2 separate regions of the Homo sapiens genome follow, and region 1 is linked to region 2. Evidence: promoter capture Hi-C in 16 types of primary human blood cells and fetal thymus (Javierre and others, 2016). All regions are on one chromosome and are shown on one strand. The core of a region is centred on a gene start or on the middle of the fragment in contact, and the rest is flanking DNA. Distances in the headings are between cores, read along the strand shown. Region 1 has its middle 7.8 kb from the start of GPKOW. Region 2 holds the start of FTSJ1 (FtsJ RNA 2'-O-methyltransferase 1).

Region 1 (4,018 bases), core at 1,502-4,001, 650 kb before region 2:
GCAGTAAGTTATGACTGAGCCACTGTACTCCAGCCTGGGCAAACAGTGTGATACCTTTTCCCAAAAATAAATAAATAAATAAAAGTAAATTACCTGGCTGGATGTGGTGGCTCACGCCTGCAATCCCATCATTTTGGGAGGCCGAGGCGGGCCAATCACCTGAGGTTGGGAGTTCGAGACCAGCCTGGACAACATGGAGAAACCCCGTGTCTACTAAAAATACAAAATTTGCTGGGTGTGGTGGCACGTGCCTGTAATCTCAGCTACTTGGGAGGCTGAAGCAGGAGAATCGCTTGAACCTGGGAGGCAGAGGTTGCAGTGGGCCGAGATCATGCCATGGCACTCCAGCTTGGGCAACAAGAGCGAAACTCCATCTCAAAAATAAAAAAATAAATAAAATAAAAATAAGGCCGGGTGCGGTGGCTCAAGCCTGTAATCCTAGCACTTTGGGAGGCTGAGGCGGGTGGATTGCCTGAGCTCAGGAGTTCAAGACCAGCCTGAGCAGCATGGTGAAACCCCATCTCTACTAAAAAAAAAAAAAAAAAGCTAGACGTGGTGGCGGGTGCCTGTAGTCCCAGCTGCTTGGGAGGCTGAGGCAGGATAATTGCTTGAGCCCAGGAGGCAGAGGTTGCAGTGAGCTGAGATCATGCCACTGCACTCCAGCCTGGCGACACAGCAAGAGTACATCTCAAAAAATAAAATTAAATAAATAAAATAAAAATAAGTTACCTGCCAGGCACGGTGGCTCACGCCTGTAATCCCAGCACTTTGGGAGGCCGAGGTGGGCAGATCACCTGAGATCAGGAGTTCAAGACCAGCCGGGCCAACATGGTGAAACCTCCGTCTCTACTAAAAATACAAAAATTAACCGGGCATGGTGGCACATGCCTGCAGTCCCAGCTACTCGGGAGGCTGAGGCATGAGAATCGCTTAAACCCGGGAGGCAGAGGTTGCAGTGAGCTGAGATCGTGCCACTGCACTCCAGCCTGGGTGACAGAGTAAGACTCTGTCTCAAAAATAAATAAATAAATAAATAAATAAATAAATAAATAAATCAGGCTCAGTTATTACCTTATAGCAACATAAACAGTCTAAGACACTTATTTATCGATAAAGTAAGTGGCATCATAGTTCACTGCAGCCTCCAACTCCTGGGCTCAAGCAATCCTCCCATCTCAGTCTCCCCAATAACTTGGACTACAGGCAGGCACCACCATGCAAGGCTAATTTTTTAATTTTGGAGAGATGGGCGTGGGGGGGGGGGTCTTGCTAAGTTGCCCAGGCTGGTCTCGAACTCCCAGCCTCAAGTGATTGTCTTGCCTCAGCCTTCCAAAGTGAACTAATTCTTTTTTTTTTTTTTTTTTTTTTTGAGATGGAGTTTTGCTGTTGTTCCCCAGGCTGGAGTGCGGTGGCGTAATCTCAGCTCACTGCAACCTCCACCTCCCAGGTTCAAGCAATTCTCCTGCTTCAGCCTCCTGAGTAGTTGGGATTACAGGGGCCTGCCACCACGCCCAGCTAATTTTTGTATTTTTAGTAGAGATGGGGTTTCACCATGTTGGCCAGGCTGGTCTCAAACTCTTGACCTGGTAATCCGCCCGCCTCATCCTCACAAAGTGCTGGAATTATAGGAGTGAGCCACCGCACCCGGCCGTGATTTGTACTTCTTTCTTTTTTTTCTTTTTTTCTTTTCGTGTGTGTGTGTGTGTGTGTGTGTGTGTGTGTGTGTGTGTCTGTGTGATGGAGTTTAACTCTTGTCGCCCAGGCTGGAGTGCAATGGCGCGATCTCGGCTCACTGCAACCTCCGCCTCCCACGTTCAAGCGATTCTCCTGCCTCAGCCTCCCGAGTAGCTGGGATTACAGGTGCCCGCCACCACGCCCAGCTAATTTTTTTGTATTTTTACAAAAAATAGAGATGGGGTTTCACCATATTGGCCAGGCTGGTCTCGAACTCCTGACCTCAGGTGATCCGCCCACCTTGGCCTCCCAAAGTGCTGGGATTACAGGCATGAGCCACTGTTCCCAGCCTGTATATCTTATGTTATGAAATACCTGATTATGTCCATTGCCTATTTTTCAGTCAGGGATTTCCTGCAGTTGATAGTTATTGAATTGGAGGAGCTCTTTGCATTTTGGGGATGTTGACCCTGTATGTTTTATGCATGTTACTTTTTGGGGTTTTTTTGAAACAGGGTCTTGCTCTGTTGTCCAGGCTGGGGTGCGGTGGCACGATCTTGGCTCACTGCAGCCTTGACCTCCTGGGCTCAAGCAATCCTCCCATCTCAGCCTCCCGAGTAGCTGGGATTACAGGCGCCTGCCACCATGCCCTGCTAATAATTTTATTTTTATATTTTATTTTATTTTATTTTTGAGATGGAGTCTCACTCTGTCACCCAGGCTGGAGTGCAGTGGCATGATCTCAGCTCACTGCAACCTCCGCCTCCCAAGTTCAAGCGATTCTTCTGCCTCAGCTTTCTGAGTAGCTGGGATTACAGGTGTGCACCACCACGCCTGGCTAATTTTTGTATTTTTAGTAGAGACAGGGTTTCACCATATTGACCAGGCTGGTCTTGACCTCCTGACCTCGTGATCCACCCGCTTAGGCCTCCCAAAGTGCTATGATTACAGGTGTGAGCCACCGCGCCAGGCCAATTTTTGTATATTTTGTAAAGATGGGGTTTTGCCATGTTGCCCAGGCTGTTCTACCTTTTTTTTTAAATACTTTTAAATAAAACACAAATTTTTGTCATGTCCCATAACCTTCTCATGACTTCCTCATTACCCCAGCAAAGTCCTAATATTCCCTGCTATCCATGACCTAGCCTCTGCACCTCACTCCAACTTCACTTCCTGCCATCCTTCACAATCCTTTTTCAGTCTTCGGTCCATTTTGGAAGTAGTGCTGGGCACAATTAATCCCCATTTTGTCTGTTTGACCACCCTTCCCTACAGCCATCTGTGTCTGAGGTCTTAGACACATTTGTAATCCCTGATTTTCCCATCTCATATGAGTTCCTTGGAGGCAGGACCTGTTAACAGAGTGGATACTCAATTAATGATTATTGAATGAGCAAAAGAATAAATGGCTGGTTTTGTAAAACTTGGATATGGTTTTCCTTAATTATATGGTAAGCAAATACTTTTCTAAATGTTACTCCTGATTTTTTCAGTATGAAGTAAAGACAGAAACAAAGGTCTTTTCTCTTATTATATATTTTTCTTCCTCCCTCTTTTTTATTCTTTTGTTACAGACAGGATCTCACTATGTTGCCCAGCCTGGTCTCAAACTCCTGGGTACAAGCAACACTCCCACCTTTGCCTCCAGGGTAGCTGAGGATACAGGCATGAGTCACCATTATATTTTCACCACCAAAAATTTTGCATCAAGTTCTGCTGTGGTGGCTCACGCCTATAATCCCAGCACTTTGGGAGGCCAAGGCGGGTGGATCACTTGAGCTCAGGAGTTCGAGACCAGCCTGGCCAACATGGTGAAACCCCATCTCTACTAAAAATACAAAAATTAGCAGAACGAGGTGGCGCATGGCTGTAGTCCCAGCTACTCGGGAGGCTGAGGCAGGAGAATCGATTGAACCCGGAAGATGGAGGTTGCGGTGAGCCAAGATCACGCCACTGCACTCCAGCCTAGGTGACAGAGCAAGATTGTCTCAAAAAAAAAAATGCATCAGGATCAGGTTAGGCTGGGGTGATCTCCATGATACATCTCAGGAGCAAGTCAGAGACAAAGTGTGAACCAGCTGAGAAGGTAAAACTCTCAGGTTTTCCTAGGAACTCTTGCTTAAAAACAAAAAACAAAACTCCTTCAGGGACCTCTTGTGCCAGCGTGTATAAGGCTGCATTGCGCACATTGCCTCAGGCGGCTGCTTTAGGAAGTGGGTATCACTTCCTCCACGGACAGTTTGCATTGCAGGCAATGGAACCAGTGGAGAAACCTGGTAGACAACACCTTAACCAACTGATTCATGTTCATGTAATTAACAATAGGACTTATCAACATCATGAA
Region 2 (3,563 bases), core at 274-2,773:
GGCCCACTTGTGAACCTGTCCACCTCCCATCACTGTCACCCACACTCCACACATTAAACCCTGCAACTGCCACTATCAACCCTTCTCTGCTCATGTCATGCCCATTAAAATCTCACTGACTGTATCCCCAGTTGTCCCCATTGCCCCTAGATTCATATAGTCCTATTAGCCCCCATTAATCCCTTGTTTTCCACCTTTATCCTAATACTACTTCATTGTACCTCCCACTCCCTATATCTCTCTCGTTTCACCCCATTCGCCATTAATCCCTTAGATGATTAGGCCCCTTTATTACTACATCCTTATGAACCTCTAACAATGCCTGGAGAATCATGGTCTATTAGCTCCCCATTAAGCATTCAATTACTGATTTATCAGCCCCCATTAACTCAGTTTTCTCCAATAGACCCTTCATAGATCACAGCACTAGCCTCCTGCCCTGTAACTCTTTCATTAACAAACACGTTAACTGATCACACATCAGTTCCCCATTCTCCCCTCACTGTCCACCCTGCTCTCCATGGATCCATCACTGGATGATCACACTCCAACAGTTTACTATTCACCTACTATGTATCAACAGAAGTTAACCCCCCCAACCCTAGTTTACTATTGCCCTCTCTTTACTCACTCTGTCCCCTAATTCCTCGACGGTCATGCCACCATAGCCCAACTACTGACTCTGACTACAACACCATCAGCCTCTCATTATCTTTTCTTTCACCAAGGCCCCTTGATCATGACCTCCATCCATCTATTATTCCCCCCACAACCTCACCATCATCCTTGCCATTACGATGCCCCATCACTTTCCATTAACCCGTTGAATATCATACCTCCATCAATACCTGGGGGATCATTTTCCCATCCATCACTCGTTATATTCTAGTTGCTTACTCTGCCATCCCCTCATTAATCAATCAATGAACAACAGTTCGACTAAAATATTCTTATTAGCCCCCATTGATTCCCCAGTAACACCCCACCCTCACGCTCCACCCAACCTCCCAAAACAGCCTTCTGACCACACTCCCCGTCCCTCCTCATCAATACCTCAAAGATGATAGCTCCATCGGGACCACCGGGTACCCCTCCAGGCGGCTCCGACCGCTGCGTCCCATGTCCCCACCTCGAATCCACCCCGTCTACTGGTCCCCTTCTGCAGACAAACCTTGGGTCTAGAACCCACCCGGTGCCAGCCGCCCGAACCATACACAGCTACGGCGCCCAGGGCGGACCTCCCTCCTTTCCCCGCAGGCGGGACAGTGCAGGCGTGCCTCAATAGCCTCCGCCCGCATTCCTGTCCTCCGCGCCCCAGGGCCCACCTTAGTTTTCGGAGCAGGGTGGTCCGCGAGCAGCCTGTGCCTCGGCGAGAGCGCAAACGGGCGACAAGTCCTAGGGCTTCAGTTTGTGTTCGTAGTCCACCCGAATGCCCGGGGGGGCAAGCCTATGGGCTGTCGCAGCGTGGCAAACTCGGCATCGTGGATCGCCCAGGTTCCGGCGGGCCGGGACCTGATGTGAACGTACAACGTGAGCCCCGTCATCTATTGTCGACGTATCCGGGGCTCGCGAACTGCGTTTCCCGGCATGCAACGGGCACGGCCAAAGCGGCTGAATCCACGCACTGCGTGGCTGCAGCGACGCGACGCGCAAGTTGCCAGCGATTCTTTGTTCTTTTTCTTCCGAGGCCAAGATCGATTTGCTCCCCCGCCCCTCCCTTCTTGGACCGTGCTTGTTATTGAGCCTGTAAACTACATTTCCCAAGATGCCACGCGCAAGATGGCGCCCATTCATTTTTCGCGTGCCGGGAAGCGAAATTACCACTCGGGGCATAAACGTGACAGTAAGGAAAATGCGTTCTTGAAGTGCGCGAGCGCGCGGAGGCTGCTCGGCTGCAATTTCAGATCGCACTACAGCTAATGCATGGCGCTGCCTGAGTTTTACTGCCTCAGAACTTCAGTTTCCCTGTCTGGAAAGTGGGGATAATCAATAGTATAGACTTAACAGCATTATTGGGAGGGTTAAATAGGTGTAGCTTAGCCACTCTCTGGGCTTTTGTAATTCTGTGATCTTCAAATATTTTAAATTCCATCCCAGACACAAAAAAAGACTATACATCCTGACCCAGTGGACAAACGGAAAAATAATGAAAACGTTTATCATAGTGTTTACCATGTGCTAGGCTCTAAATGCCCTCAGTGGTGTGCTGGTAAATGGTTAACCACTGGCTGGGGCGGGGGTGGTGGCGGGGAGGGGTGGGGGGAAGGGAGGCTGGTTTCTAGCATTTACCAATTTCCATGGCTTAGGTACAATCTTCTTGTTAGATTTCAAGGTACCGACCTGTGGTCACTGAACAGGGAGTTTAAAAGAGATGCAGTAGTGCACTATCATGTATTATTTTTACCATACAGATAAAATGGGGGTAAATGACCTCAAGAGCATAGAGAATAGTGGAATGTGGTAAAATTAGGAAGTTACCAGTTTTGAGTAAGTTTATATCATTTCATTTTTAACCATAGCTGTTTAACTTTAGGGGGCTGAGGTGGAAGGATCGCTTGAGTCCAGGACTTCAAGACCAGCCTGGGCAATATGGTGAGATCCCCGTCTCTACAAATAATAAAAATAGCCGGGCGTGGTGGTGTGTGCGAGTAGTTCCAGCTACTTGGGAGGCTGAGGTGGGAGGATTGCATGAGCCTGGGAGGTCAAGGCTGCAGTGAGCCTTGATCTTGCCACTGCACTCCACTGTGGGTGACAGAGTGAGACCCTGTCTCAACAAACAAACAAAACCAGTTGTTAAACCAGCTGTTTAACAACCAGTTTGCAAAATTTCTGAAAATTGAACAGCTCCTCCCAACCTGTATAAGTTGGCTCCAGCATGTCCTTCCCTTTGTTCATTCATTTTAATCCTGGCAACATGCATATGAGTATTAGCCAGGGGCGGCGGCATGTGCCTTTAGTCCCAGCTACTCCAGAGGCTGAGGTGGGAGGATCCCTGGAGCCCAGGGGTTTGAATCTAGTCTGGGCAACATAGCGAGAACCCATGTCTCTTTAAAAAATAAAAGGGCTGGATGCAGTGGCTCACGCCTATAATCCCAGAACTTTGGGAGGGCGAGGCGGGGGGATCACTTGAGGTCAGGAGTTGGAGACCAGCCTGGCCAACATAGTGCAACCCCGTCTCTACTAAAAATACAAAAATTAGCTGGGCGTGGTGATGCGCACCTCTAGTCCCAGCTACTCAGGAGGCCAAGGTGGGAGGATCACTTGAACCTGGGAGGTGGAGGTTGCAGTGAGCCGACATCGTGCTACTGCACTCCAGCTTGGGCGACAGAGTGAGACCCTGTCTCAAGAAAAAAAAAAAAAACAGAATGATTGATTCCTTAGCACACGAGCTTCACCAGGCAGGGATTCCTGTTCTGTCATGTTCACTGCTGCCTCCCAGTGCCTGGAACAGGGGTGGCGCACAGTTGGTGTTCAATAAATGTTGGTTGAATTCATCCTTTTGTTGCTTCGTTCCTTAATTTTTTCCCCAGTGGTGCGTCCTGCATTTCTATGGAGCCCTGGGT

The links. The method cuts DNA at HindIII sites, captures the fragments that hold promoters and counts their contacts. A CHiCAGO score of 5 or more calls a contact.
Region 1: a contact is called between a fragment that was not itself captured here and the fragment with the promoter of FTSJ1 in region 2, in 1 of 17 cell types (neutrophils). The highest score is 5.3, in neutrophils.

Annotation. Positions count from the first base shown.
Region 1 is chrX:49,129,491-49,133,508 of GRCh38, reverse strand. No RefSeq gene overlaps it. Among named protein-coding and RNA genes, the nearest start is that of GPKOW, 7.8 kb to the right of the region's middle. The HindIII fragment of the contact is 7,777 bases long and covers 1-4,018 here.
Region 2 is chrX:48,474,159-48,477,721 of GRCh38, reverse strand. FTSJ1 (FtsJ RNA 2'-O-methyltransferase 1) reads right to left here and starts at 1,523. Exons shown (of 13, transcript NM_012280.4): 1 at 1,326-1,523. It overlaps LOC124905185 (a long non-coding RNA gene), which reads left to right and starts at 1,379. Exons shown (of 2, transcript XR_007068226.1): 1 at 1,379-1,843; 2 at 2,534-3,494. The HindIII fragment of the contact is 16,848 bases long and covers 1-3,563 here.